Regions from separate parts of the Homo sapiens genome. Here regions 2, 3, 4, 5, 6 and 7 are each linked to region 1. The links are contacts of gene promoters, found by promoter capture Hi-C in human tissues and cell types (Jung and others, 2019). All regions are on one chromosome and are shown on one strand. Each heading gives the region's core, a stretch centred on a gene start or on the middle of the fragment in contact. The rest is flanking DNA. Distances are from core to core; before and after follow the strand shown.

Region 1 (3,720 bases), core at 350-2,849:
GTCCTTCCACAGGGAAATTTTTGAGAAAGGCAGAAAAATGAGAAAATGAAAATCCACTTCTTTGTCATAACCTTGAGATACGACAACTTCCACAGAAGTCTACATTAAGATCCACTTTCTAATCTTTCTCTGCACTCCCAAAATTACTCTTAATTTCTGTTAACCATTCCTACAATATGGGAGATAGCAAAGGGAAAACTACTTCCATACTTCTTCCCAAGATGTCCTCACCAGAAACAATCTTCCTTCCTGCCTCTATGTCTCCAAATATACGGAATCTCTCAAAAAATAAAACTAAAACAAAACGATAAAAGAGAAAAGGGACTCAAATCACAAAAGCCAGCCTTCAAAGTCTCCAGCTTTCTTACTGCAGAACTACAGTCATGTGGTATGATGGAGGCACCTGTTAGGTGGCAATCCATGAAGCTTAAAGTGTTACCAGGAGAATTTAAACAGTAATGGGGGGAGGAAGAGGAGCTGATTTCCCACCTCACATTTTTTTCGCCTTAACACATGATGGCCAAACAATATATGCTACCCACTGTCAACATTTTTATCATTTTTACTTAAATTGAGAAAGAGGAGAATTTGAGAGCCAACTGAGGAAACTGGATCTCATATTCCCCAATCCAGGCTGACTTCAGGTTTTGTGTGGTTTTTTTCTTCCTTTTTGACAAGGAAATTTTACATATCTCCTGAAACGTGTTTTACATGAAGGTGAGACCTCAACAATCTTATAACTTTACCCCAGCCTGGTTCTGGACTCGGTTTTTACAAACGGGTGACGTGTGAATAGCTTCCTAAAAGCAAATGGGGCACTGGGATATAATCTAGGAAGTGATGATGCAAGTCTCCGGAGGACGGGGAGGAGGGGAGGTGAAGAAGTCAGAGGAAATACCCTCCTAGTGCCTGGGCACCAACTCACGCCCCGGGAGGGAGGAAGGGCTGGCTTCCACATGCCCACGGAAGGGGCACCCCTGCTCCTCCCGGAGCGGTCAACGCCGCCCCCTCATCCCTCCCCGCCGCCCTGCCCCCCTCACCCGTGGCCCAGGAGGCCCCCGTGGGCCCGAGCTTCAGGCCGGCGAGTCCCAAAGGGTAGCAACGCACCCCCGGCAGGGCCTTCTCTGCCCACCCCCAGCTCCCCACCCGGCACCCCTCCCCGGAACGCGACCCCCACCCCCTCCCCGTAGGCCCGGGCTGGGCCCAGCCTCCAAGGTTCCGGCCTCCCGGGCCCCGAGGCCTGCCCAGGCTGCCCTGGCGTCTGCGCCCCCGGCCCCCGCCCCCCGCCCCCACCCGGCCGGGCACTTACCCCCAGAAGCCGCAGGGACAGCGAGGCGGCAGGCTGGGCGCTTTGCTGCGCTCGCTCCCAGCGTCTCCCATGGTGCTCGGCGGCGGCGGAGCTCGGCGGCGGCAGCGGTGGCGGCGGCTGGGCCCGGGCCCCGCTCTGAGGAGGCGGTGGCGGCGGCGTCGGGGGGCTCGGGGCGGGGGGAGGGGGAAGGAGCGGGCGCGCGGGCGGGCGCGAGTCCGGGGCTCGGAGCCGGGATTCCAGGCCGGTCAGCTGGAGGCGGGCCGCACCACTCGGCCTGCGGAGACGGGGAGGGGGCGGAGAGGCGCGGAGAGAAGAAGGAGGGAGCCGAGGAGGAGGGGCGTGCGGACGCACCGAGGACCGCGGGGGAGGAGGGACACAGACGCCCTCGGCGGGTCTCACCGCCGCTCCCCAGCCAGAGAGATGTCCTGTGCGGTGGCGCAGGGAAGGACCGGAGCCCCCCGCCGGCTCCGGAGTCGCAGCGGCCGCTCTGAAGCCCCGGGCCCTGCTGTCTCCGTAACACCGTCCCCTCCCCCGGAGGCTGCGCTGACCGGACAATGGCCGCTCCGCCCCCTCCCCGGCGTGCGCCCCTCCCGAGGAGTCACAATGGTCTCGCCCGGGGGAGCCAACGCCAAAGCCCAGCCGCTGATCAGCTGGGATCCGGGCGTGCCACTTCGTTCCGCGCCTCAAAGGCGGAGTGCGGGGCTGTGGGAGAAAACGAGAGCCTCGGGCTGTCGCCCGGCGACGGGCGGCTGAGGCCTTCGTATTCTTAGAACTTTTAGAATCTGAAGCAAACTTATCTTCCCCCTGTCTGAAGAAGGGGAGCAGGTTTCTGAGTACTCCGGGGCGCGGTGCCTCCCCCTAAACGCGAATGGTGCGCTCCAAGCGGGAGGGGGAGGAGCAGATTAGTTGTGTAGGGTAAATTGGGCCAGTCCCAGAGTGGCGGCGCATGCGCCCGTAGAACCCGTAACCGAGTGCGAGGAGGGGCCTGGGGGAGCAATGCCAAACGCGGAAGTGGAGCTCTGGCTTCCCGGGGGCGTCGGAGTCAAGGTCCCTGGAGCTGCCGCTCTGGCTCCTGGGCGATTCCGGGGAGCCATTCTCCCCAATTTGCCAACTCCCTGGGCATCTCTCTCTCTCTTCCTGGTCCCGCCACACCCAAACAACTCTTATAGTTCCACCCGGTATACTGGTCTCTTGACAGGAACTTTTGGGAAATGCCCCTCCCCCAGCCCCTTGTCTGGGGCAACTTCCTTGTCTCTTCTCCCCCACCGGTGTTGGGGAGTTCCTTGTCTCCACTCCCAACCACAGAGCCACAAGTACATTATCTATGCCCAGGCGAGTCCCTATGCCCAGGCTAGGAGAGCCGCACTTCTTCCTACAGCTGACACGTTTGGTTTTTGGAGGGGAAAGGGGAGCTGTAGCTGAATCAGTAATGGAAATTGGTAAGTGACCAAAGAAGTTTGAGACACTAAAAAAATGAGTCCTTTAACGATCCTAGTCCTTGATCCTGAGCTCATTCTGATCTCCAGTTAGTCATGAACAGAGAAATCGATTATTGATGACTAATTCAACACGGAGGCAACATCCTCCAGACCTTTTGGAGACCCATCGCTGAGGAAGACTTCCTGGCTCTTAGGAATAGCTGCCGTATACCCTCCTTGCCTGTCGGGTATATCAGAGCCTCAGAGAGACTATTACCTAGATTAATTTGATTACCAAATGTTGCTATCTTATTTCTTTATATACCAAATCACATTTCTGTTTGTGCATACTGTGTGGGTTTGTTAACATTGATGTTTATTTTGGCCTCTAAAGAGCAAGGATCGCATTTAGCTTAATATGCCACAGATGCTGTTGATGGTGAAGTTAATGATTGCAAAAATCAAGCACTTAAAGCCAAAACACCCTAAAATGTGAGTGCTGATTTATTATGCACAATGTTTAGTTTTAATTTGGTGGATTTTCCAAAGCCTTCAATAAGTATATCTGTAAGAAAGTGCATAGAAAAAGCCGGACGCTGTGGCTCACGTCTGTAATCCCAGCACTTTGGGAGGCCAAGACGGGTGGATCACCTGAGGTCAGGAGTTCGAGACCAGCTTGGCTAACATGGTGAAACCCCGTCGCTAGTTAAAAAAAAAATACAAAAACTTAGCCGGGCATGGTGGCACGCGTGTAATCCCAGCTACTTGGGAGGCTGAGGCAGGAGAATCGCTTGAACCCGGAGGGCGGGTGTTGCAGTGAGCCGAGATCATGCCATTGCACTCCAGCCTGGGCAACAAGAGCGAGAGCGAAACTCTGTCTCAAAAAAAGAAAGAAAGAAAGAAAAAATGCATAGAAAGGATAAAGCCATACAGCACACCTTGCTCTCATTGGATTCATATTACCCTTAAATCTTCATTTAAGCCGACATAAAA
Region 2 (3,720 bases), core at 762-3,261, 490 kb before region 1:
CTACTCGGGAGGCTGAGGCAGGAGAATCGCTTGAACCAGGGAGTTGGAGGTTGCAGTGAGCCGAGATCACATCAGCCTGGCAACAGAGAGAGATTCCATCTCAAAAAAAAAAAGTATTAAATAAACCACCACTTTTTCGTGGTTTTTTTGTTTGTTTGTTTGTTTGTTTATTTGGGAGATGGAATCTCACTCCGTCACCAAGGCCAGAGTGCAATGGTATGATCTCGGCTCACTGCAACCTCTGCCTCCTGGGTTAAGCAATTCTCCTGCCTCAGCCTTCCAAGTAGCTGGGATTATAGGCGCCCACCACCACGCCCAGCTAATTTTTGTATTTTTAGTAGAGACAGGGTTTCACCATGTTGGCCAGGCTGGTCTCGAACTCCTGACCTCAGGTGATCCACCTGCTTCAGCCTCCCAAAGTGCTGGGATTACAGGCATGAGCCACTGCACCTGGCCTTTTTGTGGGCTTTTTAAACAACCTTTTGCATGTCTTTTGTTCTCTGTTCAATGTGAATGAGAAATATTCCCCAAGCTGTGGTGACATCTCTGACTTGAGTCACAAACCTGTTGTGACCTGACGACCCTTTAAACTCGTAGTGTGGTACAAAAATAACTCTGTTGGCCCAGGCGCAGTGGCTCAGGCCTGTAATCCCAGCACTTTGGGGGGCTGAGGCAAGAGAAATGCTTGAGCTCAGGAGTTTGAGACCAGCCTGGGCAATATAGCAAAATCCCATCTCTACAAAAAATACAAAAAATAAATAAATAAATAAATAAGCCAGGCTTGGTGGCACATACCTGTAGTCCCAGCTACTCCAGAGGCTGAGGTGGGAGGATCACCTCATCCTGTGAGAGGTCGAGGCTGCAGTGAGCCGTGATCATGCCACTGCACTCCCGCCTGGGCAACAGAGTGAGACCCTGCTTCAAAAAAACAGAAACAAAACAAAACTCTGTTGATTTTAAGTAGCAATCCTGCAACAATTTGAACATCTTTTAGGGAAGAAGGAAAAATAAATTCATGTGAAACTTATGATACTACTCACAGAAAAAGATGCCCTTTATATTAAAACTTCTTAATTTTTTGAGAAATCATTTTGAAAACTTGCAAAACCAGTTTAAGTGACTATTTGTATGTTGGTTATTCCTTCTCCTGTGTTTGTATAAATCACGTTATGTTTACAGTGCAGATGTAAAGTCTCTTCCCTGACAAGTTATGTCCGGAGGAAAGAAAAAAATAGAGATATTGCCTGTTAGTTCAAACACAGAATTGGATGGTTGGTTTATCTTTTTTCTTTATACCTGGAAATGCCTCTGTCCTCAATTTCAAGGCCTCACCTTCAGAGTGAATCCCTCTTTGATATACTGCAGTGGTTATTACTGCTAACATCTGATGCTTGATTCTTTAAGGCCTTTGAATTGATTTTCTCAGCTAAAACCTCTAGCATTTAAACTACAGGATTGTCAAACTGCACATAAGAGAGTAAACCATACAGTTATTTTTGGAAAGTGCTTTCATTCAAAGGCCCCAGTGTGAGGAGAGAGAGAAAATTCACTGATCCTGGTGAACTTGTATGTTTGAGATCTACTGTTGCCACATCACCTCACTTCTGTCCCTGGGGATAACCATCTCTGATTTCTTATCTTCTAGAAAGCAGGCCACTTCCTCTGAAGTGTTTAGAGCTATAGCTTCATAAAATTTGCATGTGTTTGAGGGGCAAAAGGTGGAGGGGAACACATCTGAAGTTTAGGGAAGTTTTAACCTCTTCTTATCACTGGCTAAAATGGACTCAGCATGATTTTTGGAGCCCTTATAATCTTAAGATAAGATGTGATTTGGGCAACCTTGCTAATGTAAAAATTGGAGCTAGAACAGGAAAGATCAGAATACTGGATTAATGCTAATTAAACAGACAAAATAGCAAAGAAAGAAGGAAAAATCGATTAGGGGAAAGGGGCTCCAGTTTTCAAAAGGCATAGCCTGTTTTCCACCCATGGGCTTCACCCACAGGTATGGAGAGGTGGTCAGGACTGAATTCTCTGGAAGTGTGTTCAGAAGCAGCCTTCTCACAGAAGCAGGTGGGGGAAACTTTGGGAAAGGAAAAGCTTAAAAATTGTATGCTATATATAACCCATGGTTTTTCTTTGGTGATGTAATATATGATTGAAAAGTGATTTTCTTAACCTGATAGATAAAACTAGGCATTAATATAACTAAGTGCCTGTGTTGTAGAATACATTTTTACAGCTTTTTGATAGTTTCCAAGAAAGATGGGCTTGTTCTCTAATTAGCTATTGTTCTTTTACAGCTGTTAAGACAGAACAGCTGTGGATATTTTTTCCTCTTGAATAATTTGACAGAAGGTTGGATTACAGTTGGGTTAGAAGCTTGCCTGATCAGCAACAAATTCCTGTGTAGGCCTGGGGCTAGGCCACTGGTGTGTTTCCTCCTTTAAAAAAAGAAGTGATAGGTCTGTGGGAAGACCTCTAGGTAGGACCTTAAGCTAATAGTTATCTTCTTAAACAGGAAATCTTTGTATCTCTATGAAAATCTTGGCAATAGAGAATGATCTACTCAGAGATTATTAACCATTTGCTTGCTGCATGAACCACTGTGCTGTTAGAAAACAATTTTGTAATGAAAACAGCCAGGGAAACATTGAATAAAGCCCAGCAGAGCACAGTGTTTGAAGATGACAGTCCTCTGTAACTGCTAAGTGTTATTTCCTTTTACAAAATCTGCTTCAAGTGGGTCTTTTTCCTCCACCTCTCAAAAGTGATCTCTGGAGACAGTTAAATAACATGTCAGTCTTATCTTTAAATATAGCTGGTACAGGTGGCCCTCAGGTCATGTCCTACTGAAGTAATACTGCCTTTTAAAAAATTTATTACTCCTGAATTAAATTTAGAGGCAAGTCGTTGGCCACCCCTGGTGCTTTGTAAGAACAGAGAGCAGTAAAATTGTTTTCAGATCACTTTTTCTGCAGTTCCCTGCAGTCTGAGTCATTCCAATATTCATACACTTTGCAGAATGTATACACTTTGTTAACATGCAACTTTTGCATTCAGAAGCAGCAGATTAAATTTGTCTGAGCAGAATTGCTATGTGCACAGAGGGGGAAAAGTAATTTCTGTCCAGGCGGTTCACCTTTGCCTTTTGCTCCTAGCACAGGCTGTTGTAATAGGGATGTAGGTGAGGGATGGCAAAGGAACACCAGAAAGAGACAGATACAAGACACTGGGTTTTGGCAGCATGGTTTTGTAAACAAAGTGACACAAATTGGGACAGAAATTCCAGTGGGACAAGGGAGGAAACTGGAAGACTAGAAATAGAGCAGAAAGCTCAGTCCCATCCAGATGGTGTTTTTAATAAATTTATCAGACGCATATGAAAGACGATAATGAACATTCAAAATGGGGAGTGGCCCAGTTCCTCTGGGAAGAAAAACAGTGTGGAACCTTCTGTGTGCTGCATTCAGATATAGAATCACTCTCTAATTTTTCCCAGTAAGAAAGACCACAGAACTTATTCAAACCATTGAGTAATTGTTTAAGGCAGTCCAACTAGGTAGGCTGAGGTTTGTGTTTCTAGAAAGAAAAATTCATAACACAATTATTCCCTGCTGAAATGGAGGATTTGGCCTATGTATATTAGTAAACCAGTGGTGACATTTGATACAAACATCTTCTGTCACAACTACTGTAAGTGTGACTAAAGCAGACATT
Region 3 (3,720 bases), core at 329-2,828, 460 kb before region 1:
CTTATTATCTTTCTACTTGCTAATTGTGATATCCTTTTTAGTGTTTTCAGGCTAGTATGAGAACTCAAATATGCTATGCATTAAGTATACCTATCATCCAGTCTTTTCCAGCTAATAAATGACAGCACTTTGTTGAAACCCTAATTATAAGATAGTCAGTTAAATTAACAATTTTTACATTGGTTTGAACGATGTTTTTGCAATTGATATGTGCAATAGAGTAAGTGAAATACCCAAAATATTTTAAATAACAAATAATAGTAAATAGGGTGTCAAAAGATAAGACTGTTTAGATAGATGCAGCTAACTAAACCCATTGTCTCTGTGGGTGTTGTGAGTATTAAGAAGTTAATGACACAAAAACATTTTGAGTTCTTCAGTTGGAAAATATTATATAAATGCAATATGTTAGGACAAAAGATGTCTAGCCCAAAATAGTTTCTTGATGGGTATTCATAATCTCTTTAGTCTGTGGGGTGAAGCTCTTTTTGTTTTGCAGAAGGAAAAAACAATTCTACCACTTTAAAAAGTTAATCTGGCACAGACTGTCTGAACCACAAATCAGTTTATGTCTTGTAGTTATTAAGTAGATAAAAAGAAGTAATAGCAAGTTGATCCTAAAAAAATAATAATAATAAAAGAATTACATATGCCACTGTGGTCCTTATTCATCTGGTATATTTTTCTTTCTCTGTGAACTGTCAAGCCCATGCCGAGTTCAATTGTCCTTTCACTATTGTGTGGCTACAACCAACTCTAGATTATCTATTCAGTTTGTAAATTACCGTGACCTCCTTTAGACTGCTATTTTTTCTTCTTCCTGCTGCTTACCACCCTGCCTAACTGTTGCTCATGCACTTCCCTCCAGAAGGATAAGCACAGAAAAGAAAAAGGAGAGGAACTGTAAAAAATGCCATTTTTTTCCTACTTAATAGCCAAATGAAGGCTTAGTCAATAAGGGTGGGTAGAGGAATTGGGGCTAATGACTCAAATAATGTTTTGTAATTATTTGAGTATTTTCTACATCTGTGCTGCACTCAATCTCTAGTAGGACCACAGATAATCTCAAATTGAAGATAGTGATTTTTTAATGTTGTGATGAGCTTGAGTCTTTGCAGCAGTTTCCAAATGCATAGTATGCTTCTCTGTGCTGTGAGTACTCAATAAACACTCATTGACTAAACTGACAACATAGATGCTAGTGCAACTAAAGGGAGTTCTATCTAGCAACTAAATTGGACATCATATTTGCTCAGTGTGTCTTATCTAAGTGTATGTGAGGAAACTGCTAAAGATCCAACATCTCCAGCAAATGACTGAGATTGAGCTCTGGAGTTAGGCTCTGACATTAGCACAGGTGATGACATTAGCACAGGTAAAAATGCTTGCCTCACTTGTTCCATGCCGCTTCCATTTCATTCTGTCTGAGTGCTGCACAGGCAAGCAGTACATCTATTTACATTAAGACAGCCTTCTTTGCAACCTAGAGAGCTAGAAATTTCCTTTTTATAGCCTGAAGAATACAGCAAACATCTAAATATATGACTCTTCTGGCTTGGATTAAGATTGCTTATAATTCTAGTCAAAATTGGAAAGATATTTTACAAAATTTGCTTCATATCAGTCATGCTGAATGTCGTCTGTCACAGCCCGGAACCAAGGAATTCTTCCTTGTCTCACTGATCCATGATTTATTACTAAGTGTTGTTTCTCTCTGAGCCTATCTGCATCACTCTAAAGTCTTCTTTTATCACCCTCAGACCTCAGAGCTCTGGTTCCCAGAAAAATCATACAGCAAATAATTTTATCTATGGTTCCCAGTAGGTGCTGAAGTCTGAACTGTGTGAATGCATAGAGGGCCAGAAATCCTGGATCCTGGAAACAGATAGCAGGATAGTTTGGGGGCATGGTAAATATGCCTCAGCCAGTTTCATCCTAGAGGTATTTCAAGACCAGACAGTATTGCTATGGCAACTAAGTTGTGTGTTAAAAATACAGGAGGAGCACTAGAATTCAGATGTTCTTTGGAAAAGCAGGAAAAGTTAAATGCCAAAAAAAAAAATATGTTTGTGTGTTCATGTGTGTGATTTACCTCACATGTCAACCATTTACCTCTGTTGAGTGATTGGAGAACTTGGCAAGTAGTCATCATAAGATATAGCTGGATATATGAAAAGAATCCTTTTAGCTTTCCAAGATTTTAACCCATCAATAAGACATTTTTACAGAGGATTTCGGCCCCATCTGACCCATTTTTTCATGCACACGTGTGTGTTTAGTAATTATCTAGAATTGTTAAGAACTCTTTAAAACAAATACTTCACCGGTAGTGATTATAGCAATCATTTTAAAAACCAGAATTGTTCACCTTGGAAAACGAAATGAGTGGAAAGCATCAGCCTCCTCCTTCTGTGGCAGATGTTTTATATGCTGCTGCCCCAGGATAGGCCACACGGGGTCACAGAAATGCAGCTATTCTCATGAGGGCTAACAGAAGCATAGGACTTCAAGCAAATTGAAATTTGTACACATTTAATACATCAAATTGCTTTAATATAGCTTTTGAGTATTTTTCAGAATAAAGCTATTCTGAAAAAACTGATGAAGGGTCACAGTCATTTAAGGCTAATTCTTGAATTAATTCAAAGCAGTGATCTACCTTTGAAAATCTTCTTATTCTTTCCCCAAGTACCCTTAAATCAGAGACTCTTTTCCCAGGAGCCCAACTTTGTCACTTTGTTCAGATACTTTTGGTACATCTCGATAGCACCTGATGTCAGTGTATCTCTCTTTTTAAAAAGCTTAGCCCCTTACATTGGTAACCACAGAGGCACTTGACCAAAACATGCTTGTATATCTACTTAAGAACAAGCAGAAGCACTGAGACCAAGAAAAACTCTTTCATCTCCTCTTCTTGCCTCTCCTCTCTGTCTACCTCCATTTCTGCATTCTTCTTCTAGGAAAGATGATTATGATGACAGGCTGGTTGGTGCCCGTCAAGGACTCCTTTCAGCAACTTTCCTGGACACTCAGGGTCTTAGCTCTAGCTGAGGAATCATTATTTGCCTGCTGCACTGCCTCTTTCAGCAATGTATCAGATTCAGTGCAAGGGGGATTGGTTACATAGATAAATGCAGAGTATGCTTTTACTTCTCCCTGGATTTTCTTTCCTTGCTGCCCTTAAGACTTAATGGTCAGGATCTTCTTTCTTCCTTTTACCTTATTATGCCTGAAACCATATCCCTCAATGGTTATGATATTACCTGCCTTGCCACATTATTCTTTTACTGTAACCAAACACCAGCCAAGAGTGTTTAGACCTTCTGTACAGTTTAATTTTTAGAAATGGCTAATGGTTCTTTTGGTCACCATGTCTTACAGTGGTTCTGGAGCTTTAGCTGCTCTCACTGTTTTCATTTACAAGATGAAGAAATCAAAGCATAGTTTGAGTTTCATCCCTTTCTCTCCATCAGGAGTAGGACAACACAACCCATGGTAAAACTCCAGCTCCAAAGATTCTAATTTGTTTCGTGATCCTGCAGAACCTCCTATAGCCTTACAAAGAAAATGAAAGGAGCCATCACATCTTATGGTTCAATCCACCCTTGATTTCTGTGGTCATAAATTATAGAAACTGCCATTATATGTTGCAACTGAGACTTTACATTTGTTTTACTAGAGGTCATTTGTTCCAAAGGAGCTTGCATTTGGCTGCAAATA
Region 4 (3,720 bases), core at 594-3,093, 410 kb before region 1:
CTGCAGGAGTCTTTATGGCCTCTCTGAAGCACTCTTGAACCTATTCCTCAGCCTGCCACTGTGGCCAGCCAGCCCTGCCGTCCCAGCCACTTTCTGATCACCTTCCTTCCCAGCCTCATCAGGCGGAAGGGATAGGGACAGTAACTGACATGTTTGTCTGGGGCTCTGTAGCACTTTGCCAGACCTCATTGTGTGCCTCTTTATTCTCCTATTTTTGAGAGGTTCATTGTTTAGGCCTTCAAGCATCTTTGGATTAGAGATCCAAGGAATTAAAAACCAGCATATAGAAGAATGTAACCGCCTACTAAATATGTGCTCCTAAAACAAAACCAAGTGGCAGCACTAATGCCGACAGCCAGGACCTCAAAGTACAAACCCTAAAAGTGGTCTCATTTGGAAGCAAATCAGAATCCCAGAATCCTCAGAAAACTCCAGAGAAAATTTATGACCTTCCTCTAAACAGTGTTCTGCATCTCCTTTCAGTATAGCATTTGGTTTCTCTCTCTAGTGACTTCGCACTAAGGGGACTTGAGGCACACAGTGGGTGAGCAAGCCTCTCCAGGACATACTTGTTAAGTGTAACCCTCACATTGCCCCAGCCTCTGCTAGTCGCCACTGTAAAATGCTGGGTCAAATTGTGGTTATAAAGTCAATTGCTTCCAGAGTAAACCTGCTGTCTTTGGATCTTTGTTTTATTCAAGGCTGCTCTGTCAGCTGTAGGCTTGCCTTTGATAGGCCGCAGCAGTGGTTTTCATGTCTAACTAGGATTTTAATGTTTGTGAGAGACTGTAGTTAATTGGATCCCCATGGTACCACAAATGACTTTAGAAGCCTCTTATGTCAGTGGAGGTAACTCTGTGAGTGCGTGTGTGTGTGTGCATGTTTGTGTGTGTACACACCTGTCCTCACCCCTGAGCAAGCACCTTGAGATTTAAGTGTTCTTATGCCCAAATCTCAGGTTTGAGCATTTTTAATACTTGTTTTTCCAGAGTCAAAAACCTTGCCATCACCCCTAGATTCTTAACCTTTCTCCTTGCCTACTCTTCAGTTGTGTGTGTTGTTTTGGGGGCAGTTGGGGCAGAACAGCCAGACTCATCTCAGCCTGTGTCTCATCTGCAGTCACAGAGCTAGAGATTCTCTGTGAACCTCTGCCATCTTGCTGGCTGCTGCACGCCATCCAAGCCCCATTTCCTGACTCCTTTTGCAGAGTTGGAGCAGCAGCAAGGAACCCCTGCCCCCACTCTGTCATCACTGTAGTGCTCTGTTCAGTTACTGTAAGAGCTGCTGAGTCCTGCCTGGTTCCCTGTTCTGTCTTGAGAAGGGTGGCCACAGACAGTTGCTTATACATATGTTGCCATGCTTTGAACTGTGCAGGCGCGGGGATCAGTATCTTATCAGTTCTCCACAAAAGAGGTGGTTTCACACTCCCACCCCCCTTTGAAACCTAAGGTGACCTATCCTAGTAACCTGAACAAGCCTAACTAACATTCCTATGGATGGAGCAAAGAAACAGAGAGGGCAGGTGAGAGCAAGTGTTATTATAAGAAAATAAGCAAGGCACAGGAAGAGCTAAGTACTTTGGAGCAAAAAAGACTAGTGTGCCTTAGGATTTGGGAACCCTGGAAAGTAGAGAAGCTAATCCACCTTTGGCCTTTGGCCTCATAGTTAAGCCTTGCCAATGAAACGTGCTCAGTCATCAAGTACCAGTATTGTTAGTCTTCTCTATGTGTGTGTCATATCTGCCTTAAATAAATTGATGCAATGAAAGTAATCTGTAAGTGGTAAAACTCTATACAAACATCAGATGTCATTAGGTCGTTCTGACTAGATTGTAAGCACCTTGAAGTCCTGGGTTGCCCCTGATGCTTCTTTTTCCTCTCATAGGTAGTCCCTCGTACCCCTGCCCTTGCCTGGCTGGTTAAGTGACCCTTTCCAGCCAAGCTAGAGTTGGCCTCCCCTGTTATTCCTTCATAGCACCTGTCACAATTTATAATTTTAAGTTATTTATAACTTAAGTTTTTCCATTAGGCATTAAGTTCCTTAAAAGTGGAGACCATGTCTGCTTTGTTCATATCTACATTCTTAGCACCTATAAAATGCCTGGCACATATTAACAGTTTTTTATTAATAGTTACTAAAGGAATGGTTCCACAGGAGGACATTAGTAAGTTTAGGGCCAGGGAATGCCCCTTCTCTCCTATATCTTACCACTGGGGAAGCTTTTGGTCTTCACCTTCAGGGTCTATGGGGCTAGCTTTCTAATGTCTCCTGAGCATTTTGCATCTTCCCATTAACTGTGAATTTCACTGCTGGTGACTTCATTCAAGTGAATCTCAGAGCCTCTAGGACACATCATTGGGCAAGATGTGGCAGCTACCTTTGCTGATTTGTTTCTATTCCATTTGTCCATGGCATTGTGGGAAAAGAGATAGATGGCCTTGGTTCCCTAGCTGGAGTGAGGTAGGTAAGAGAACTTCTGACTGAACATTTCCGTCCTTTGAATTTTGGTACAAATGCAAAGGCTGCCTTGAGGGGCACTCACAGAGCCAGCATGCTTTTTCATATCTTCCTGTCCATGGTAAGTGCCCCTTTCATAGGAGAGCTCATTAAGACCCACATTCACCATCTACCAGCAAGAATTCCATCAGAAGTTAGTTACCTTAAACTAAGTGTGACTTTCTGACTCACATTTATGAATATACCCAGTTAGATTATAGAACTGCAACATCATACTTATTACCTTGAAATTACATTTTTGTTCTGAATGACCAAGCCTTGTAAACAATGTAAGTACTACCTAACACACATATTCTGAAACAAGCTCCACGTTAAGCGTTGGTTTGTAATGGGTGATATTTGGATAGCTCTGATTAAATATGTAAATTATGAAAATTAGAAGTGGAAAAAAAGTTACCTTTGTACTTGAACCAGCTACATATTGATCTTTGACTCAATAATGGATCATTCTCTCTCTTATAGATCTTGGTCTTACACAAGTTTTTTCTTTTGTATTTTTTACTCTTCATGTGTGGTTTCCTTACTCTTGTTCAGACCTTTCAGTTGATAGAGCTTCTCCATTGTGTGTATTTTGGATGGTAATCTCTAAAAAGCCTTTGTGTGAGGTTCTTAAGTATTTTTCATCCAACATTGGTTTTACCCCAAGGGTCCTCTTCCCTGAAGCAGTAGCATTGGATTTGGACAGTCCTTTCCTTTCTCATCATAATGAGATGGCCCTCATCCAGAAATACGCTCATGGCCATATCTGAGATTAGGAATTTTGCTCAGGCCAGGCGCTTGCCAACTGAGCCAGGAAAATAGACAAATCCAAGAGGAATGAAAACATAGAAAAAGAGGTCGTGCAGACTATGAGACTCAAATCTTATTACTGAATTGTCCATACCTCATAAGTTTTTTTTTTCTTTTGAGACAGAGTCTTGCTCTGTCACCCAGGCTGGAGTGCAGCGGCACAATCTCAGCTCACTGCAACCTTTGCCTCCCAGGCTCAAGTGATCCTCCCACCTCAGCCCCCAAAGTAGCTGGGACTACAGGTGCTTACCACCTCACCTTGCTAATTTTTGTATTTTTAGTAGAAGTGGGTTTTTACCATGTTGCCCAGGCTGGTCTTGAACTCCTGGCCTCAAGCAGTCAGCCTGCTTTGGCCTCCAAAAATTCTGGGATTACAGATGTGAGCCACTGCGCCAGGCCATACCTCATTATTTT
Region 5 (3,720 bases), core at 484-2,983, 380 kb before region 1:
TGAGCATTTTTTCATATACCCTTTGGCTATTTGTATGTCTTCTTTTGAAAAGTGTCTATTCATGTCCTTTGCCCATTTTTTAATGAAATTTTTATTTGTACATTCTGGATATTAGTCCCTTGTTAGATGAATAGTTTGCGGGTATTTTCTCCTATTCAACAGATTACCTTATCACTCTATTGATTATTTACTTTGCTGTGCATAAATTTTTAAATTTAATACAGTCCCATTTGGCTAGACCAATATCCTGAACTGGTTTCCCTATGTTTTCTTCTATTATTTTTATAGTTTCAGGTCTTACATTTAAGTCCTTAATCAATCTTGAGTTGATTTTTGTATATGATGAGAGATAGGGGTCCAGTTTGCATATGGATATCCAATTTTCCCAGCACCATTTATTGAAGAGGGTATCCTTTCCCTGGTGTAAGTTCTTGGTTCCTTTGTTGAGTATCAGTTGGCTGTAGATATGTGGATTTATTTCTGGGTGTTCCAGTATACTCTGTTGGGCTGTTTTTATACTCATACCATCTGTTTTGATTACTATAGCCTTGTACTATATTTTGAAGTCAGGTAGTGACTGCAAAGCCTCTAGCTTTGTTCTTTTTTCTTAGGATTGCTTTAGCTATACTGGCTCTTTTTTGGTTCTACATGAATTTTAGGATTTTTTTTTTCTGTTTCTGTAAAAAATGACATTTTTGGGCTGGGTGCAGTGGCTCACGTGTGTAATCCCAGCACTTTGGGAGGCCGAGGTGGTTCATTAGGTCAAGAGATGGAGACCATCCTGGCCAACATGGTGAAACCCCATTTCTACTAAAAATACAAAAAAATTAGCTGGGTGTGGTGCCGCACACTCATAGTCCCAGCTACTCGGGAGGCTGAGGCAGGAGAATCGCTTGAGCTTGTGGGGTGGAGGTTGCAGTGAGCTGAGATTGTGTCACTGCACTCCAGCCTGGCAACAGAGCGAGATTCCATCTCAAAAAAAAAAAAAAAAAACAAAAAAAACGACATTTTTGGATTTTTGGTATTTTTGATGGAGATTGTATTGAATCTGTATATTGTTTTGGGCAGTACAGTCATTTTAATGGTATTAATTATTCTAATCCATGAGCATAAGATGAGTTTCCATTTGTTTGTATTCTCTTCAGTTTCTTTCATCAGTATTTTGTGGTTTTCGTTGTAGAGATTTTCCACCTCCTTGGTTAAATTTATTCCTAGGAATTTTTTTCCATGGCAGCTATTGTAAATGGGATTGCCTTCTTGACTTCTTTCTTAGCTAGTTCATTATTGGTGTATAGAAATGCTACTGAATTTTGTATGATGGTTTTGTATCCTGCAGCTTTACTGAATCTGCTTATCAACCCTTAAGAGTTTTTGGGTGGAATCCTTTGGTCTTTCTGAATATAAGATGTCATCTGCAAAAAGGAACAATTTGACATCCTCTTTTCCAATTCGGATGCCTTTTATTTCTTTCTCTTGCTTGATTGCCCTGCCTATGACTTCTAGTACTATGTTGAATACGAGTGGTGAGAGTGGGCATCCATGTCTTGTTCCAGTTCTTACAGAAAAGAATTTCAACTTTTCCCCATTCAGTACGATGTTAGCTATGGGTTTGTCATAGATGGCTTTTATTATTTTGAGGTATATCCTTATATGGCTAGTTTGTTGAGACTTCTTATTATGAAGGGATGTTGAATTCTATTAAATGCTTTTTCTGTGTCTATTGAAATGATCATATGGTTTTTGTCCTCGATTTTGTTGATCTAATGTATCACGTTTATTGATTTGTGTCTGTTAAACCATCCTTGCATCCCTGGGTTAGATCCCACTTGATCATGGTGTATTATCTTTTTGATGCTCTGTTAAATTTGGTTTGCTAGTATTTTTTTGAGAAGTTTTGTGTCTGTGTTCATTGAGGATATTGGCCTGTAGTTTTCTTTTGTTGTTTTGTTCTTGTCAGGTTTTGGTGTCAGGGTAATGCTGGTCTTGCAGAATGAGTTAAGGAGTATTCCCTCCTCTTTGGTTTTGGGATTTTTTTTTTATTTTTACTTTATTTTTTTTATAGACAGGGTCTTGCTCTGTTGCCCAGGCTGGCATGTCATGGCACAATCAATGCTCACTGCAATCGCAAACTCCCAGACTCAAGCAGTTCTCCTGCCTCAGCCTCCCAAGTAGCTGGTATTACAGGCATGTGCCACCTAATTTTTTAGAATAGTTTGAAGAGGATTGGTATTAGTTCCTCTTTATATGTTTGGTAGAATTTGTCAGTGAATCCATCAGGTCCTGAGCTTTTCTTTGTTGGGAGACTTTTTGTTATGGATTCCATTTCACTACTCATTATTGATCTGTTCACGTTTTCTATTTCTTCCTGATTCAATCTTGATAGATTGCATGTTTCCAGGAGTTTATCCATTTCTTCTAGGTTTTCTAGTTTGTTAGCATATAGTTGTTCAGAATAGTCTTTGATGATCTTTTGTATTTCGGTGGCATCAGTTGTAATGTTTCCTTTTTCACTTCTAATTTTGTTAATTTGGGTCTTCTGTCTTCTTGGTTAGTCTAGCTAGCAGTTTATCAATTTTGTTTATCTTTTCTAAGAACCAATTTTCCATTTCATTGATCCTTTGTATTTTTATGTAGTCTCTATTTCATTTAATTCTGCTCTAATCTTTATTGTTTCTTTCCTCCTGCTAATTTAGGAGTTTGATTTGTTCCTCCTTTTCTAGTTTCTTGAGGTACATTATTATATTGTTGATTTGAAACCTTTCTACTTTTGTATATAGGGGCTTAAATCTGTAAACTTCCCTCTGAGTACTGCTTTTGCAGTGTCCCACAGGTTTTGGTCTATTTTGTTTTCATTTTCATTTGTTTCCCTGGAGAGGGCAGTGCCACCTTCAGTGACAGTAGCCTAGGCCTGCAGGTGGGAAATGCCCGTGGTGCTCATACCTCAGCCCCTGCTGTGGTAGCCAGCACCTTGGTTGCCCCTCAGCCCTGAGTGCATAGCCTGTGCACATCTAAGCCCTGAGGACAGCAGGCCATGCTTCTCCTGACCTCAGGTCTGGCTTCACTGGGATCCAGGACAGTGTGCAGTCTGTAGAGGCAGGTCCTAAAATAGAGCTTTGTTTGTGCCTCCACCCCAAGCCTCGAGGATGGTAGCCCATGGTCACCCCTGCCTACAGTTTAGGGGCAGCAGCCCAGGCTTTTCTTGCCCCCATTCCCCTTTAAATGTTAGGCATTGTGAAAGCTGGCTGGAAGCTTCTAGTATATGGATGGGTTTGTGGGCTTCACTGAGGGTTATCAGGCAGGGATTAGATGTTTCACTAGGATACCCCTGCCCAGCACACTAGTGCTTTCTGTGCCTTCTCACTGGGATGCCCTTTCAGATCTGCATGGCTGTGTCCTCCAGTTGTGTAGGTGTTAGCTCATTTGTCACCTTACCCAAGAGACCTTCCCTAAATATGTTAACTAAAGCAATGTGTTCCTCCAAGTCTACTTAACACTGTTTTGTGTTTCTCCATAGCCCCTTTTTAACGCTGATAAATTTGTTTTTTTTCTGTCTCCTTCCCATTAGAACATAAGCTCTTGGAGGGCAGGAACTTTGTTGTATGCTATATCCTCAGGGTCTAAAAATGGGCTTATTCCATAGTAAGGACTTGATCAATATTTATGGAAGAAAGGAGAGAGGGACAGAGAGAGGGAAGGTCGTTCAGTATCTGTAGCTCTTTC
Region 6 (3,720 bases), core at 762-3,261, 330 kb before region 1:
GAGGTCTCACCATGTTGCCTGGTCTCGAACTCCTGGACTCAAGGGATCTTCCCACCTTGGCCTCCCAAAGTGCTGGCATTATAAGCTCAAGCCACCGCCCTCAGCCTTCAGGGTTTTAAACATGTGCTGTGTTGTGATGTGCCAGCTGCCTGCATCTTCCAAAGCAGCTCTGATCAAAACCAACACTCTATGTTGCATCTCAGAGACCTGAACTCCCTGAAACCCACTTTCAGAGAACAGTAAGGCAGGTTTCTGAGGACTTGGCCCCTCAGTTCCCAGGAAGGGCTTCCATCATTCCCTTATTAAAGCATTTCAATTTTTCAATCAATGTTATATGTTTAACTGTAGTCGTAAATATAAGGCCTACTGCATTCCTATCTCCTACCCCAAAGAAAACCAATTTTAACTTCTAAGCTTTTTCCTCCTCTTTTACCTCCATATTTCTAAATAACATACTACTCTCAAGTTTTCAGCTTTGGACATCCTTTGTTGATTTCCTGCTAAGAACAAGAACTTGGCTCTCTTATCCTCTGCCACCAATACACAGGCACATTCTTTCCCTCTCCCAGTCTCCTACTGAGATCCAGCATATATTTTTACCAGAGCAATATTCACTAGTATTTGTGTTTACATTATTTGTACGTAAATATTATTCACAGCTGAGTCACACAGGGTCTGCAGCTCCTCTTCCTGTGTATTTCTGCTTAGGCATTAATACACTGTTATTACTTGCTTAATTGTCTGTATCTGTCTCTGATTCTTAGACCTTCTCCAAGCCCTCTGACAGGACCCAGTGCTGACAAGATATGGGGCCACCTCGCAGGCCTCGAGCTGTGTGCTGAGTTCCCCCAGAGCCCGCCCCAGGTCCCAAGTCTCCATGTCTTTCTCCGATCACTCCTCCCTCACTGCAGCCTTCCCCCATGTAGTTGCGAGAATGGCTGCTGAGGAAATCAGGTTTTGAGACTCCTGCAGACTTCTCTTGGGTATCTGTGTTACTGTTGTGCCCATCTGGGGCCCTCTCTCTTGGAGACCCCCTTCTTGGGGCTAGAGGGGCTGCTCACAGCTCCCTGAATGTGCTGCTGATGGCTCCCTTGAAGACCACGGCCCACTCCCACCCATGGTTTCCTGTTTCTCACGCCACCCAGCAGGAAGGTTTCTGCTTGTCTTCCCACCATCCCCTCTTCTTGCTGTGGACTGTTGTTGGCATAACAACAGTTATGTTGTTGCTGTGGACTGTTGCTCTGTGAAGCAATCAGGAAGGAGCTGACGCAGACCCAGTTCCTGTGGACCAGTGGGCAGAGCACAGCCCACTGCTCCCTGCAGGCCCGCCTCACACCCAGGCCACCAAGGCCCTCTCTTGCCCTTTGCCCCCGTGCTTGTTCATCGCCACTGGGCCTCTGATTTCCTCTGAGGATTTTCATCACGCTCATGACAACTATGCGGTCAATATCTCTGTCCTAAAAGAAGTGGGGACAGGTCCCACTCCTGTGCCTCGCCCCTGCCCTGCCAAATGTTTTTTGAACATTTAAAAATGTAGTTAAGTTCATCCTATACACCAAAGAGTGCCACAGCACACACCTCCTCCAAGCCAGCCTTTGGGAGCCTTCGTCATCCATCCTGGAGGCCCTTCCTAGGGTGGGGTTCGGGTCTAGGGCATGCTGCCTTCCCTCAGGACCCAGCACCCACCCCACCCACGCCTGGGGCCCTCAGGGCTGGGGCTCGTTTTCTGATCCCCCCCAGTGTGTAACCTCCTGGCTGCTGGCACAGGCTTGGCCCTGCAGACCCACCTTTACCCCAAGGCCAGTCCCGCAGCTTCCCAGGGCAGAGGCTCCCAACAGAAAGCAAGGAAGCGGCTGTTTAGCCTGGACACTAACTGGACGAGTGCCTCCAAGTACTGCAGACGGTCTCTGCACACAGGCCCCCATCTCTTTCCAGCCCTGGCCAGGGAGATGGGTCAGTTTTCCCAGCAACCCAGGGGGCACTTAGGAGAAGGGGTGAAACAAGAAAACCAAACTTTCATACGATTGGTTTAATTTTTTTTTTCAGCAGGAGAAAAAAGAATAAAGTTACAAGATTCTTTTAATATTTTCACAATGTTAAAACTAAAACTGAGCTCTAGGCTATGTGTGTAAGTAAATCTAGAACACAAAAGGGTTAAATAAGATTTTCTCTTTTAAAGATACAAGAATTTAAGCTTTCCTTACATTTAACAAACTTCACAGAACAGATACTGCAGGGGAACAAGCCCCACCCCCCACCCCCCCCAGCTCTAAGTCAGGAAGCGAACATGGGCTTCGCTCCCCCAGGCCAGCTCCCCTGGGCTCCTTCCCATGGCTGCCTCCACGCAGCAGGCAGAGGAGGGGGCGGGGGGCCCTGGGGAGGGCCGGGAAGGGCTCGCACAGCCTCTTCGGGACCAGAGCTTGGCGGAAGCCTATGGGGGGCTGCCTCACTGAGGATGGCCCGTATGGTGGCCAAGGGCTGTGGCTTGACAGCAGTGGTAAACGCTGGGCAGACCTGGCCCCTCTGCCCTGGGTTGCCCTAGAGCAAGACACCGGTCTGGGTCCTGAAGCAAGAATTAAGGCTGGGGATTTTGCAGCGGGTTCCACTCTGGTGGGTGGAGGGTGGGAAGAGCATGACTTCCTATTTCAGTACGTCGGATCAAAAAACATTTGCAGTTGCAGGTGTTCAGCTGTTAATTTGCAGACAGAGTTGAACCATTTGTTGTTTTATAAAAAGGAAAGTTGCTGGGTTAAACTATTCCAGTAGCCTATGTGTGGGCAGATCCACGCTGCCTCCGCAGGGGCCTCCTGCCCTCACCCACCTGGATCTGATGCGGCACTAGGACCACTGGGACTGCTCACCCTGCCTGGGCTTTCAAGGGAATCCTGATCCTGTCCACCCAGCCCCAGCCCCACCTGACTGGTAGTGATTTCCTAACATGGGGCAACCAGGCCCACCCCCACCCTTCCCCACCTGGCGTGCGCAGTTGCAGCTGCTGAAATCCTCTGTGAACATGAGGGGGCACAGGTGGAGAAATGTACCCTCAGGCCCTCACCTACCAGAGCAAATATCACTCTCGGAGCTGGGCCACAGCCACAAACCGCTGTTCTAGACAGATCCAAACCCACTGTCCCTGGGACGTATGCTGCCTTCCCTTACTAAACTTGCTATATGGTAGATGTGGACTGGGTGTCCTTGGACTATGGGGCTGCATAGAAACGAGAATGGAGGCCACGACATCATCCTCTTGGCCCCTGGAGGCACGGGCGGCTCCAGCTGGAAGGGGCAGAGCCCGTGGGCGGCAGCTTCCCCAGCTGCTGCTCCCAGCACTTCTACTGATTCTTGTTGGCTATGAAATGTCTTTTTAAAAAACTCCCAATATAGAAATCTGGCTGCAGAGGCCAGTGTGCAGACCCAGCCACCGCGCTGTGCTGCCATTCGCCACATCTGGTCCGTGCCAGATCCCTGCACTGGCGAATGGCAGACCAGAGCCGGCGGAGGCGGGGCACTCTGGCTGCTTCTCGTGACCTTGGATCCTGTGTAGAAAAGGCGGGTCTCGTTCGTGGACTAGTCTTGAGTGGAGCTAATTTTCAAAGTGAGGTTACTGTTTCTCTTCTTGTGTGATGAGTTTTTTCATAGCAAGTCAGGTAAAAAAATTTCCGTAAGAATCTGTCCCCCACCCCCCATTTCCAGCTCTGTGGGAGAGTGAGGCCACCACCC
Region 7 (3,720 bases), core at 835-3,334, 320 kb after region 1:
CCCAAAGTGCTGGGATTAGAGGTGTGAGCCACTGCCTGATTTTGCTGTTTAAAGTGCCCCCGATCCCCGACCCCCGACCCCAAGCATAGGGCTGAAGTGCTGTCTGGCATTCCTAAATCCAAGAAGGCTGTGATGTGTTGTAGAAGAAAACAGGTTTTTTAGATAAACTGTTCAGGCATGATATAACTCATGATGTAACAGCACGTATAGTGCTGTTGGTTGTGAGTCCAGTGTTAATGAATCAACAATATATATTGAATAAGGTCACTTTAAACAGAATCACACATGAAACAAGGTTGCAAAAATGTTGTGTCCATAGGCTTGCAGGAACCTCACCTGGTTTGGTATTTGCTAATTCAATATTAGAGGCAACTTTATAGGACATAGCTACCAGGAACAACAAGAACCAACTGTATTCAGGCTAAGGTAGGAGTATGTAAATGAAGGAATATGTAAATAAGTGGGTGTGTCAGTGTTCCACTAAAGCTTTATCTGCAAGAACAGTCCTTAGACCATTTGGCCACAGGGCTTAGTTGCCAACTCCTGGTCTAGAGTACCAGGTCTATGGTGGTTCTGCCAGATTCCCTTCCTCTGTGGCTTCACCATCTCTTGAGATCTTGTCACCTTATCAGTGGAACCGGGGCATACCCCACTGATGTGTCCACCGGCAGAGAAAGAGGAGAATGGAGGAAGCACACCCACTGTCCTGGGCCCAAACTGTCCACTTTCCATTGGCAAGAACTAAAACCCCACCTGACTGCAAGGGATCAGGGAAATGCGTTCACCAGTCAGGAGGCCACATAGCCAGCTACTGTTTGCTTACTATGGAGGAAGAGACCAGTGTGTTTTCACAGACAGCCTGTAGTCTCACTACAGATGGCACCTCACCTCACAGTGTGGTTGTGAGGATTAAATGAGACATTGCGTTAAGTGCCCAGCACGTGCCTGGCACCGGATTGGTAATCAATACATGGTAGCTCCAGCCTTTGTATTTCTTTTGCATCCTTCCACCATGGCTAAGTCAAACTCGTTCTTGGGCATTCGTTCACTCATCTATAACATGAAGGACTTGAATTTCACCAGGGGTTACAAACTCCTTGACTATGGCCCAAATACAGATCACAGATGTCTTCTGTTTGGCTGACAGACTTTTAAGTTTTTATTTTATTTTATTTTATTTTTAGACAGGGTCTTGCTCTGTTGCCCAGGCTGTAGTGCAGCGGCATGATCTCAGCTCACTGCAGCCTCCAGCCTCCCGGGTTCAAGCAATTCTCGTGCCTTAGCCTCCCGAGAAGCTGAGACTACAGGCGTGCACCACCATGCCCAGCTAAGTTTTGTATTTTTAGTAGAGACGGGGTTTCACCATGTTGGCCAGCTGGTCTTGAACTCCTGACCTCAAGTGATCCGCCCGCCTCGGCCTCCCAAAGTGCTGGGATTACAGGCGTGAGCCACCACACTCGGCCGGATTTTTACGTTTTTAAACTTGGTGGGGCATGTATTCTCCAAGTGCCTTATACTGGGGCAGATTCCATTGTTTTACCCTCTCCATACCACGGTAGATGTTTATATTTGCTATCTTGGTCCCTAAGTTTACTTTTTGCTTGGATATTCGAAGATTTGACATCTGTAACCGTGTGCCTTGGAAAAAGCCTGACATCTGGCTGGCTGTCTCCCCACCTTGCTTCTCAGTTGCCCCCAGCGGGTCTGAGTATTGAATGTGCACTGATGCTCAGTAGCAGTAGATATTGTCCTCTTATTAAAAGTTGTGTGCTCAGAGCCAATGAAGTGGTGATTTAATCAAAAATGTTTGTTAATCTGACGAGTGCAATAAAACCCCCACAAGTGAGTGATCTCAGCACCTGCAAACAGTCTCCACTTGTAATGAAGCAATTACCAAGCAGGCAGCACTCACCCTTAGGGCTGGCTTGGGCCAGCTGTATAAGCAGCCACCTCTTAGGACAACCAGGGCACCCTCTAGCCTCCCCCTCAAAGTGGTTCCTTTTGAGGTCTTTTTATCCAATTCATTTGCCACCATATGAGATCTCAGAGTTGGAAAAAACTGTGAGTTTTAGCTTCTGAGATTTCATTCTTAATAAGAAAAGAAAATTATAGTTCAAATGAGAAATCACCCACCCAGTACTGATTTTAATGTTGTGTGGGAGGAAGGAAAGGTTGAATTTCAGTCTAAACTGATAGGAGAATTTTGACTGATGTAAAACCTGTTTGTGTTTTCGGATCTCTGATGGTAATGAGCTGTTCCTTTGTCATTGCACTTTTCTTTTGTAGCTGGACTGTTCAAACTGGTGTCTTTAGATGTTTCAGTGACCAGTTGGTCTTGAGTTAACAGATGTGTGGTGTCTTAGCCGGTATCCTAAAGTGGATAACTTGGTTGGATCTGACCCCTAGTACAGAAAGTTTATCAGTTTGGAAAGCTTTTGGCTACAAGTTATAGAAAACTGACCTCAATGATTTAAGCAAATGGGAGTAGACTTTTCCCCTTATAGAAATTTGTAGGGGCCAGGTGCAGTGGCTCACGCCTGTAATCCCAGTATTTTGGGAGGCTGAGGCAGGTGCATCATTTGAGGTCAGGAGTTCGAGACCAGCCTGACCAACATGGTGAAACACCATCTCTACTAAAAATACAAAAATTAGCCAGGAGTGGTGGTACACGCCTGTAATCCCAGCTACTCGGGAGGCTGAGGCAGGAGAATTGCTTGAACCCAGGAGGTGGAGGTTGCAGTGAGCCAAGATCGTGCCACTGCACTCCAGTCTGGGCAACAGAGACCCCGTCTCAAAAAAAAAAAAAAAATTTGTAGGTAGGTGGCTACTGGCATTGGTTCAAAAGCTTAGCTATGTCAGAGTTGGTATTTCTGCATTCTCTTCACTGTTTCCTCATGGTCACAATATAGCTGCCACAGCTCCAGTCTAATATTCAACTTTAACTCAGGAAGGAGGAGGAAGGAACAACACTGTCCCTTTTATCAACAAAGCATAAGCTTCCCCAGGAGTCTCCTAGCTGACTTCTGGAACGTCTCATTGGCCAGAACTGGGTCATGAGCAAGCCTAGCTGCAGTGAGGTTGGGAGAGCATCTGCTGAGCTTTTCCACCTTCTGGAGTAGAGGTGGGCAAAGGAGCAGGGGTGGGGAGTCGGTGTTGTGTTGGCCAGTTGACAGTATCTGCTGTAAGGAATAAATGCTAATGGGAGTCATTGAAAATTCACTGGAATCCTTACCAGAAAAAGAGGGCAGGATCGGCTGGGTGCGGTGGCTCACGCCTGTAATCCCAACACTTTGGGAGGCCCAGGCGGGCGGATCACCTGAGGTCACGAGTTCGAGACCAGCCTGACCAACGTGGAGAAACCCCATCTACTAAAAATACAAAATTAGCCAGGCATGGGGGTACATGCCTGTAATCCCAGCTACTCGGGAGGCTGAGGCAGGAGAATCGCTTGAACCTGGGAGGTGGAGGTTGCGGTGAGCCGAGATGGTGCCATCGCACTCTAGCCTGGGCAACAAGAGGGAAACTTCGTCTCAAAAAAAAAAAAAAAAAAAAAAAAAAGGCAGGATCACTGACCATGAGAAGTGGTAGGCTGAGGGGAGAGAATGGCCTAGGCCAGGAAGAGCACCGGAAGGCTTGACGCTTGTGGTTATTTGTATGGTGCCAGCCACTGCAGTAGCCTCCGTGGGGCAGGGCAGGCAGAAGCACCAAGTGTGGCTGAAG

What was found. The method cuts DNA at HindIII sites, captures the fragments that hold promoters and counts their contacts. A contact is called where the count stands out against the background at its distance.
Region 2: a fragment that was not itself captured here is called in contact with the fragment with the promoter of ZFAND3 in region 1 in 2 of the 25 tissues and cell types used here (bladder and hippocampus).
Region 3: a contact is called between a fragment that was not itself captured here and the fragment with the promoter of ZFAND3 in region 1, in 6 of the 25 tissues and cell types used here (IMR-90 fibroblasts, dorsolateral prefrontal cortex, hippocampus and 3 more).
Region 4: a contact is called between a fragment that was not itself captured here and the fragment with the promoter of ZFAND3 in region 1, in 1 of the 25 tissues and cell types used here (dorsolateral prefrontal cortex).
Region 5: a fragment that was not itself captured here is called in contact with the fragment with the promoter of ZFAND3 in region 1 in 2 of the 25 tissues and cell types used here (IMR-90 fibroblasts and mesendoderm cells).
Region 6: a fragment that was not itself captured here is called in contact with the fragment with the promoter of ZFAND3 in region 1 in 3 of the 25 tissues and cell types used here (dorsolateral prefrontal cortex, hippocampus and mesenchymal stem cells).
Region 7: a contact is called between a fragment that was not itself captured here and the fragment with the promoter of ZFAND3 in region 1, in 1 of the 25 tissues and cell types used here (aorta).

Annotation. Positions count from the first base shown.
Region 1 is chr6:37,817,606-37,821,325 of GRCh38, reverse strand. It overlaps ZFAND3 (zinc finger AN1-type containing 3), which reads right to left and starts at 1,599. Exons shown (of 6, transcript NM_021943.3): 1 at 1,310-1,599. The coding sequence starts at 1,380. It overlaps ZFAND3-DT (ZFAND3 divergent transcript), which reads left to right and starts at 1,939. Exons shown (of 2, transcript XR_007059569.1): 1 at 1,939-2,748; 2 at 2,836-3,720. RefSeq lists silencers at 973-1,142, 1,303-1,532, 1,573-1,952 and enhancers at 1,231-2,033, 2,003-2,392. The HindIII fragment of the contact is 25,591 bases long and covers 1-3,720 here.
Region 2 is chr6:38,305,824-38,309,543 of GRCh38, reverse strand. The region is part of intron 7 of BTBD9 (BTB domain containing 9); the gene reads left to right. Among named protein-coding and RNA genes, the nearest start is that of BTBD9-AS1, 170 kb to the left of the region's middle. The HindIII fragment of the contact is 4,773 bases long and covers 1-3,720 here.
Region 3 is chr6:38,278,352-38,282,071 of GRCh38, reverse strand. All of the region lies in intron 8 of BTBD9 (BTB domain containing 9), which reads left to right. Among named protein-coding and RNA genes, the nearest start is that of BTBD9-AS1, 200 kb to the left of the region's middle. The HindIII fragment of the contact is 8,508 bases long and covers 1-3,720 here.
Region 4 is chr6:38,223,916-38,227,635 of GRCh38, reverse strand. All of the region lies in intron 9 of BTBD9 (BTB domain containing 9), which reads left to right. Among named protein-coding and RNA genes, the nearest start is that of BTBD9-AS1, 260 kb to the left of the region's middle. The HindIII fragment of the contact is 3,539 bases long and covers 74-3,612 here.
Region 5 is chr6:38,199,359-38,203,078 of GRCh38, reverse strand. The region is part of intron 9 of BTBD9 (BTB domain containing 9); the gene reads left to right. Among named protein-coding and RNA genes, the nearest start is that of BTBD9-AS1, 280 kb to the left of the region's middle. The HindIII fragment of the contact is 7,341 bases long and covers 1-3,720 here.
Region 6 is chr6:38,152,919-38,156,638 of GRCh38, reverse strand. ZFAND3 (zinc finger AN1-type containing 3) reads right to left here. Exons shown (of 6, transcript NM_021943.3): 6 at 2,015-3,720. Among named protein-coding and RNA genes, the nearest start is that of BTBD9-AS1, 330 kb to the left of the region's middle. RefSeq lists an enhancer at 2,982-3,602. The HindIII fragment of the contact is 3,909 bases long and covers 57-3,720 here.
Region 7 is chr6:37,493,895-37,497,614 of GRCh38, reverse strand. All of the region lies in intron 1 of CCDC167 (coiled-coil domain containing 167), which reads left to right. Among named protein-coding and RNA genes, the nearest start is that of CCDC167, 4.1 kb to the left of the region's middle. The HindIII fragment of the contact is 5,400 bases long and covers 1-3,720 here.